Linked DNA regions of Homo sapiens: regions 1 and 2 are each linked to region 3. The links are contacts of gene promoters, found by promoter capture Hi-C in human tissues and cell types (Jung and others, 2019). All regions are on one chromosome and are shown on one strand. Each heading gives the region's core, a stretch centred on a gene start or on the middle of the fragment in contact. The rest is flanking DNA. Distances are from core to core; before and after follow the strand shown.

The links. The method cuts DNA at HindIII sites, captures the fragments that hold promoters and counts their contacts. A contact is called where the count stands out against the background at its distance.
Region 1: a fragment that was not itself captured here is called in contact with the fragment with the promoter of OCM in region 3 in 1 of the 25 tissues and cell types used here (dorsolateral prefrontal cortex).
Region 2: a fragment that was not itself captured here is called in contact with the fragment with the promoter of OCM in region 3 in 1 of the 25 tissues and cell types used here (stomach).

Annotation. Positions count from the first base shown.
Region 1 is chr7:6,115,710-6,118,409 of GRCh38, reverse strand. All of the region lies in intron 3 of USP42 (ubiquitin specific peptidase 42), which reads right to left. Among named protein-coding and RNA genes, the nearest start is that of USP42, 12 kb to the right of the region's middle. The HindIII fragment of the contact is 7,776 bases long and covers 1-2,700 here.
Region 2 is chr7:6,135,535-6,138,234 of GRCh38, reverse strand. USP42 (ubiquitin specific peptidase 42) reads right to left here. Exons shown (of 18, transcript NM_032172.3): 4 at 2,284-2,394. Among named protein-coding and RNA genes, the nearest start is that of USP42, 32 kb to the right of the region's middle. The HindIII fragment of the contact is 7,739 bases long and covers 1-2,700 here.
Region 3 is chr7:5,879,548-5,882,247 of GRCh38, reverse strand. It overlaps OCM (oncomodulin), which reads right to left and starts at 1,450. Exons shown (of 4, transcript NM_001097622.2): 1 at 1,298-1,450. The coding sequence starts at 1,358. The HindIII fragment of the contact is 18,194 bases long and covers 1-2,700 here.

The DNA.
Region 1 (2,700 bases), core at 53-2,552, 240 kb before region 3:
GCTGGGACTATAGGCGCACACCGCCAAGCCCAGATAATTTTTGTATTTTTTATAGAGACAGGGTTTCACCATGTTGCCCAAACTGGTCTCAAACTACTGAACTCAAGTGAGCCACCCGCCTCAGCCTCCCAAAACACATGAACCACCACACCTGGCCTAATTTTTGATTTTTTTTATATATAGAGATGAGTTCTCCCTACGTTGCCCAGGCTAGTCTTGAAATCCTGGGCTCAAGTGATCTACCTGCCTCGTTCTCCCAAAGTGCTGGGATTACAGGCATGAGCCACATACCCAGCCAAGATTTCTTAAAACACCTACAGCACAACGAATAAAAAGAAAAAAAAAGAAATGAAATTTCCCAAAACAAAAAATGCACTCTTTAAAAGACACTGAAAAGAATCAAAAGACAAATCCCAGCCTACATAATAAAAGACTTATATCGAGGATATATAAAGAACTCTCTAAGCTCAACAATAAGAAAACTACCAGTTTTCAAACGGGCAAAAGATTTCAACAGGCATTTTAGCAAAGGAAATATACGGATGGCAAATAACCACATGAAAAGATGTTCAAAACAAAAACAAAACAAAAAAGAAAAGAGGTTCAGCATTATTCATTATGAAAGTACAAATTAAAACCACAACAAAATACTACCACACTACACACCTATGGAGATGGCTAAAACTGAAGAAGACTGACCCCACCAAGTATTGGGAAGGATGTGGAGCAAATGGAAGATTCATTCACCAGTGGTGGGACTATAAAACACTGCAATCCCTTCTGGAAAGTCTGGAAGTCTCTTAAAATGTTAAAGTACACACCCACCCCAGGACCAAGCCATTTTACTCCTAGATATTTACCTAAGAGAAATGAAAACATGTCCTAACAAAGGCTTGTTTGCTAATGTTCATAGCAGCTTAATTTGTAACGGCACAAAGTGAAAAATGACCCAGATGCCCATCAATAGACAAATGGAGAAACAAATTGTGATCTAGCCATAAAATGGAATCCTACTCAACAATACGATCAAGTGATGCTACATGGCACAAATGGAATAATGTTGACAGGATTATGCTGAGTGAAAGAAGCGAGATAATATGAGAATATATACTGTACAATTCCACATAAGCAACACTCTAGAAAATCTAAACTAATTCATCTATAGTGACGGAAAGCAGATCAGTGGTTGCCGGGCAGGAGGGTGGGGAAAGGATGGAAAGGGTGATTTCAAAGGGGCATCGGGGAACTTTTGAGGGTGATGAACATGTTCATTATCTTAATCTTGATGCTAGTTCCACGGGTGTATACAAATGTCAAAATGCATCAAATTATGTATTTTAAATATGTGTAATTTGGTATATATCAATTATACTTCAGTAAAGCTGGGAAAAGAGAGAGAGAAAGAGAGGGAGGAAGGGAGGGAGGGAGGAAGCAAGCACAAAAACTACCAGTAGCATAAAAGATAGGCACCTAATTCTGGACATCGGGAGCTTCTGAATTTTGTCTTGGTCCTCTCTCTTGCTGTCCAGGTGCTAGTGCTGGGTTTTCATCCACACCCTACTTTCATTAAGCGCAAAAGTGATAGGAAAGCTGTCTGTGGGGAATGAATTATGGACTGAGAAAGGGAGAAAATGAGGGCAAACAGAACGTTAATTCTGGCATAACAAACACCCCTAGGTAGGTGGTGAGATTCTAGGTGATTTTTCTTTGGTTTCTTTAAGTTTTTCTGTACTTTCCAAATTCTTTACAAGCATTACTTGGCTCTTTGGAGGGAAAAAAAAATCAGTTTTAAAAGAACCAATTTAAATTCTCCATTAAGTAAAGAACTATTCAAAAAGAAACCAAGGATTTTTTTTTTTAAATCCTAGTAACTAATAGCCCCAGAACATACACACATGAATCTGAGCCATTAATTTAGATCAAAGAACAGGGAGACTGCATTTATAAAGAATGAAGGATATTTACAACATATGGAGAAGGCCAAAACCTCAAAAACGGATGTTCCAAATTCTGAAGGTTGATAGTCAACCACTGAGTTGGCTTCCATCTAATTAAAGACATTTTAATAAGCTTTAACTGATTTCCTGCCATGTAGGTTGAAGATGAAGTTCTCAAATGCTAAAGGGAAAGTCTAGTCTGAATTCCAGGAGGTTGCGGGCAGTGACAAGAGAGTCCCTCTCCTCTAAGGCTTATAAGCATGTAAATGATTGAGCCTTCCAACATGATATAAATGCCAGGAGAGGCAGGATTTCTTAACCTCGCCTGTCCCAAGTTGCTGGCATCAGACGTTTTTTTTTTTTTTTTTTGAGACAGGGTCTCTTTCTGTTGTCTAGGCTGAAGTACAGCAGTGCGATCACAGCTCACTGCAGTCTCAACCTTCCAGACTCAGGTGACCTTCCTGTCTCACCCTCCTGAGTATGCTGGGACTAGAGGTGTGTGCTGCCATGCTAGACTAATTTTTATTTTTATTTTTAGTAGAGATGGGGTCTTACTATGTTGTCCAGGTTGGTCTCCAACTCTTGGGCTCGAGTGATCCTTTCTCCTCGGTCTCTCAAAGTGCTGGGATTACAGGTGTGAGCCCAGCTAATGTCAGATATTTCTGTCACATTTTTTTAGTAAGTGTAGAAAACCAACAAGGAGTTCAGAAATGCCAAAAGCTGATAAAATGTTTCTTTTTAAATACCTTCACAGGTCTAATTA
Region 2 (2,700 bases), core at 190-2,689, 260 kb before region 3:
TATAAGCAATATCACACTAAAACATATATACTGAATTTTACATGTGTATGAATGTATAAAAATGTTCTAGCTTAAATCACATGAAACTGCCAACACTCCACCAGTTTAGACCTACAAACGTGACAACTTCATGACTGAACCATGTGTGTATCAGTGGATACACACACACACAGAGCAATGACATTTTCTTAAAAGACTAGGTTTAAAAATGTTAGTCATGTCTGCTATATAAATATGTATAAAAATAAATATATGTGGTCGGGCGTGGTGGCTCACACCTGTAATTCCAACACTTTGGGAGGCAGAGGCGGGTGGATCATGAGGTCAGGATATCGAGGCCATCCTGGCTAACATGGTGAAACCCCATCTCTACTAAAAATACAAAAATTAGCCAGGGGTAGTGGCAAGCACCTGTAGTCCCAGCTACTCAGGAGGCTGACGCAGGAGAAATCGCTGGAATCCGAGAGGCGGAGGTTGCAGTGAGCCAAGACTGCACCACTGCACTCCAGCCTAGGCGACAGAGTGAGACTCCATCTCAAAAATAAATGAATAAAAACAAATAAATACATGTATAAATAGCCAGGCATGGTGGCTCACGTCTGTAATCTCTGCACTTTGGGAGGCCAAGACGGGTGGATCACCTGAGGTCAGGAGTTCAAGGCCAGCCTGGCCAACATGGTGAAACCCCGTCTCTACTAAAACTACAAAATTAGCCAGGTGTGGTGGTACACGTCTGTAATCCCAGCTACTTGGGAGGCTGAGGCAGAAGAATCACTTGAACCTGAGAGGCAGAGGTTGTAGTGAGCCAAGATCGTGCCACTGCACTCCAGGCTTGGGGACAGAGCGAGACTCCATCTCAAATGAATGGATGAATGAATGCATGCATGCATGTGTAAACAATCCAAACCTGCCTGGCTAAATTTTGCCAGGCTTCAACAATATTTCAAAGGTTTTTGGCTTGTCTGTTGTGGTCTATCAATAATGCCAAGGGCCAATATAAGACCTCTTTAATCTTCAGTGGCTTTCTAGGCAAAAAGATTACAGTTTGTTACTGTATAATTACACATCCCTATAATTACCCAGTTAGATGCCAGATTAAGAGTTATAGTTTTGTTTGTATGCATTTTTTATTCCAACTCAATTAACAAGATGCAAAAGTTTACTGCAAAAACACACAGAATGTAAGAAAATTTCATGCACTTACCCATTTAAAATTCAAAAATTAAATAGAAAAAAGTAAAATTTATCCACCAATTTGCTAAGCTCTGAGTATATATTCTTTTAAGACTGTAATTAAGTTGGGCATAGTGGTGCACATCTGTAATCCCAGCTACTCAACTGGGGCAAGAGGATCACTTGAGCCAGGAGTTCAAGACTAGCCTGGGCAAAACAGTGAGACACAGTCTCACTTGAAAAAAAAAAAAAAGAAGAACCGAAAAAAGAGAATTAACCTTATTTATTTCTTATTTTATTTTTACTGCTGCTTGCAGAGCAGGGCTAATCCACAGGCAGTGTGTCCAGAGTAGCCTAATTAACTTTATTTTGACAATTTCTGTCACTGCGTATAGTAAAGTATTCATTCACCAAACTGAAACTAATTAAAAACTGTTTACAAAAACCTGTGAGACAATATCAGAATTAGTATTACTCAGCATAGAAATCCAAGTTTCAGAGCAAAGACACTATAAAACTTACCAATTATTTTAACATATTGATTTTTAATAGTTTAAAATTTGTTATATTAAATTGAATAGTCTTTAATATATTGTCATCTTTTGCTTTAAAGTTTCAAAATGTGTTTATATAGCAAATGTTTTACTAAAAATTTGTTATCAAAGACATAGCCACGTACGACAAAATGTATTTGTTTTCTAATACATGACGGGTTCGGTTTTTTTCACCAGTTGGACATTAAGAATAACTAGGTAATAGGCCAGGCATGGTGGCTCACGCCTGTAATCCCAGCACTTTGGGAGGCGGAGGCAGGTGGATCAACTGAGGTCAGGAGTTTGAGACCAGCCTGACCAACATGGAGAAACCCCATCTGTACTAAAAGTACAAAATTAGCCTGGCATAGTGGTACACGCCTGTGATCTCAGCTACTCGAGAGGCTGAGACAGGACAATCGTTTGAACCTGGGAGGTGGAAGCTGCAGTGAGCCGAAATAGCGCCACTACATTCCAGCCTAGGCGACAGAGCAAGACTCTGTCTCGAAAAAAAAAAAAAAAAAAAGTATAACTAGGTAATAAATACAAATATAAAACTACAATAGTTAATACTTACGCCGCATCTCATTGATGACAAACATTGGTTTAATAACGTCCCCAGGATTACTGAGTGCCTGGGTAATATGTGCTTGCATTGTACACATCATACAAAAGCCTTCTGCATGACCTGAAAGATAGATGATAATCCTCCAAATTAGCAAAATACAACCATATACACACATCAAGGCTAATTACAAATCAGGGGCACACACCTGAAATGAAATAATAGCTGCTATATGCATGCCTTGAGCTATCTACTTTTATGCATTTTCATTTACTTTTTTTTGTTCTTTTTTTTTTTTTTTTTTTTTTTTTTGAGATGGAGTCTCACTCTGTCACCCAGGCTGGAGTGCAGTGGTGTGACCCTGGCTCACTGCAACCTCGGCCTCCCCGGGTCCAAGCCATTTGCCTGCCTCAGCCTCCCAAGTAGCTG
Region 3 (2,700 bases), core at 201-2,700:
TCTTCTGTGCCTCCCCCTCCCCCTGGCCCACTTTACAGGCTGTGTGGCTGAGCCCCCAGCATCCCTGGTCTAATTGGTAGGGGGAAATGCAATCACTGGATTTCAACAGGCTAAATGGCCTTTGGCGCTTTTTTTTTTTTTTTTTTTTTTTTTTTTTTTTTTGAGACAGAGTCTCACTCTGTCACCAGGCTGGAGTGCAGTGGCGTGATCTCGGCTCACTGCAACCTCTGCCTCCCGGGTTCAACTGATTCTCCTGCTTCAGCCTCCCAAGTAGCTGAGATTACAGGTGTGCACCCCCATGCCCAGCTCATTTTTGTATTTTTAATAGAGACAGGGTTTTGCCATGCTGGCCAGGTTGGTCTTGAACTCCTGACCTCAAGTGATGCACCGGCCTCGGCCTCCCAAAGTGTTGGGATTACAGGTGTGAGCACGACACCTGGCCTTTCAGTGATGTCTTGCTTTCATGTTTAGTAGGTTTCTTTTGTCTTACAGATGTGTAATCGTGTGCTCAGATCCCAGATCTCTATAATTTTAGTTATCTAATAAATAGCAGTTTTCTTCTCTGATTCCATGAATTTTCCAGCCAACCTCTTATTTATTTATTTATTTATTTATTTAGAGCCAGAGTCTCACTCTGTCGTCCAAGCTGGAGTGCAGTGTAGCGATCATAGCTCACCACAGCCTCAACCTCCTGGGCTTCAGTGATCCTCCTACCTTAGTTTCCAGAGTAGCTGGGACCACAGGCACATGCCACCATGCCCCGCTAGTTTTTATTTTTATTGTTATGTTGTAGAGATGGAGTCTTCCTATGTTGCCCAGGCTGGTCTCAAACTCCTGGGCTCAAACAGTCCTCTCACCTTGGCCTCCAAAAAGTGTTGGGATTACAGATGTGAGCCACCATGCCTGGTCTACTTTTTTTTTTTTTTTTTGTAGACAGAGTCTTGCTCTGTTGCCCAGGCTGGAGTGCAGTGGCATGATCTCAGCTCACTGCAACTTCTGCCTCCCGGGTTCAAGCAATTCTCTGCCTCAGCCTCCCGAGTAGCTGGGATTACAGGCACCCACCACCACGCCCGGTTAATTTTTTTGTATTTTTAGTAGAGATGGGGTTTCACCATCTTGGCCAGGCTGGTCTCGAACTCCTGACCTCGTGATCCACCCGCCTCGGCCTCCCAAAGTGCTGGGATTACAGGTGTGAGCCACTGCGTCTGGCCGCCTGGCCTACATTTTGATTTTGTGTTGACTCGCTGGAGGTGCAAAGCTGTGAGGAAATCCCACCCCCGCCTCACGTCCCCTCTACCTCGGCATTCCTGGAGCGCTGCTGCAATGTCGTCAGCACTGAGCACGTCCGTGATGCTCATTTTCTACCTACTCACACAGAATAAATGAGAGGCGATAAGCCACAAACAGGAATGTGCACATCCAGGGGAAACACATCTTCCCAGGCCCACTGAAACTGTATGTGTGTCTAGATTATTTTTTTTTTTAAATTAAGACGGAGTCTCACTCTGTCACCCAGGCTGGAGTGCAAGAGCGTGATCTCGGCTCACCGCAACCTCCGCCTCCTGGGCTCAAGTGATTCTCCTGCCTAAGCCTTCCCAGTAGCTGGGATTACAGGTGCGCACTACCATGCCTGGCTAATTTTTGTGTTTTTAGTAGAGACGGGGTTTTGCCATGTTGGCCAGGCTGGTCTTGAGCTCCTGACCTCAGGTGATCTGCCTGCCTTGGCCTCACAAAGTGCTGGGATGACAGATGCAAGCCACCGAGCCAGGCCTGTCTAGAATTTTTAAAATGTGATAAGCATGGTTTTGTATTAAGTGACGGGACAGAATATCCAAATTAAAACCAGATACGGAAAACACCCCAGCCTTTTTTGTCTCAGAGCCTTCTTTTGAATACATGCCAAAAATGGAAAAAAAAAATGACCCAAAGAAGGATTCAATTGTTTTCTTATAAAAATTATACTGACATAATCAGTCATTTGCATAGGCAGCCGTAAACCATGTTACACATGCACTGGCATTTTCCTACAGCAGCCCGAGAGATGCAATGTTGCAAATTCCACGTGGGAAAGGATACAGTTTGGGCTGCTTGCAGACATTCTGTGGAAGAAGGCATGCACCTGTCCTGAAAGGTGGGAAGCAGATGGATGAAAAGCCCATCTCCCAGAGATTAAAATCCTTCCAGGTGTCAGAGCCACCGGAAAACAGGAGTCTAAGCACCTGAGCCTAATATGAATGCATGCAGTGAAGAAAAGAGTCTGGGGTCTGATGTGTCCACCAGTTACTCACCGTTTTCGGTTTCCCCCCAGGAAGAATCAGGAAAAAGAGTTGAAGGAGCAAAACAACAGATGTGTTTTTGCTACCTTACTGACCTACCTTATATAGGCTAGAAAAAGTGATAGTTACAACCTCTTAGATTTCCTTTTCAAGGATCAAGTGGATGCAGCTCAAATGTCTTGTCTTACTCATGAAACCTCTTTTTTTTTTTTTTTCTATTTATGTCTCAAGGGAATGTGGGTGGGAACAGCCAATTGTAAAAAAAAAAAAAAAACAACAACAAACTTCAACAAACCTTAACTAAGATTTCAATTCTGCAAACGAACCCTGTTGGCAAAGTGTGGAGAAGGTTCTAGATGCCTGGTAAGGTGGAGATGGTGGCCTGAACTAAGACAAACACATACAGGGTGCTCTGTAAGCTGAA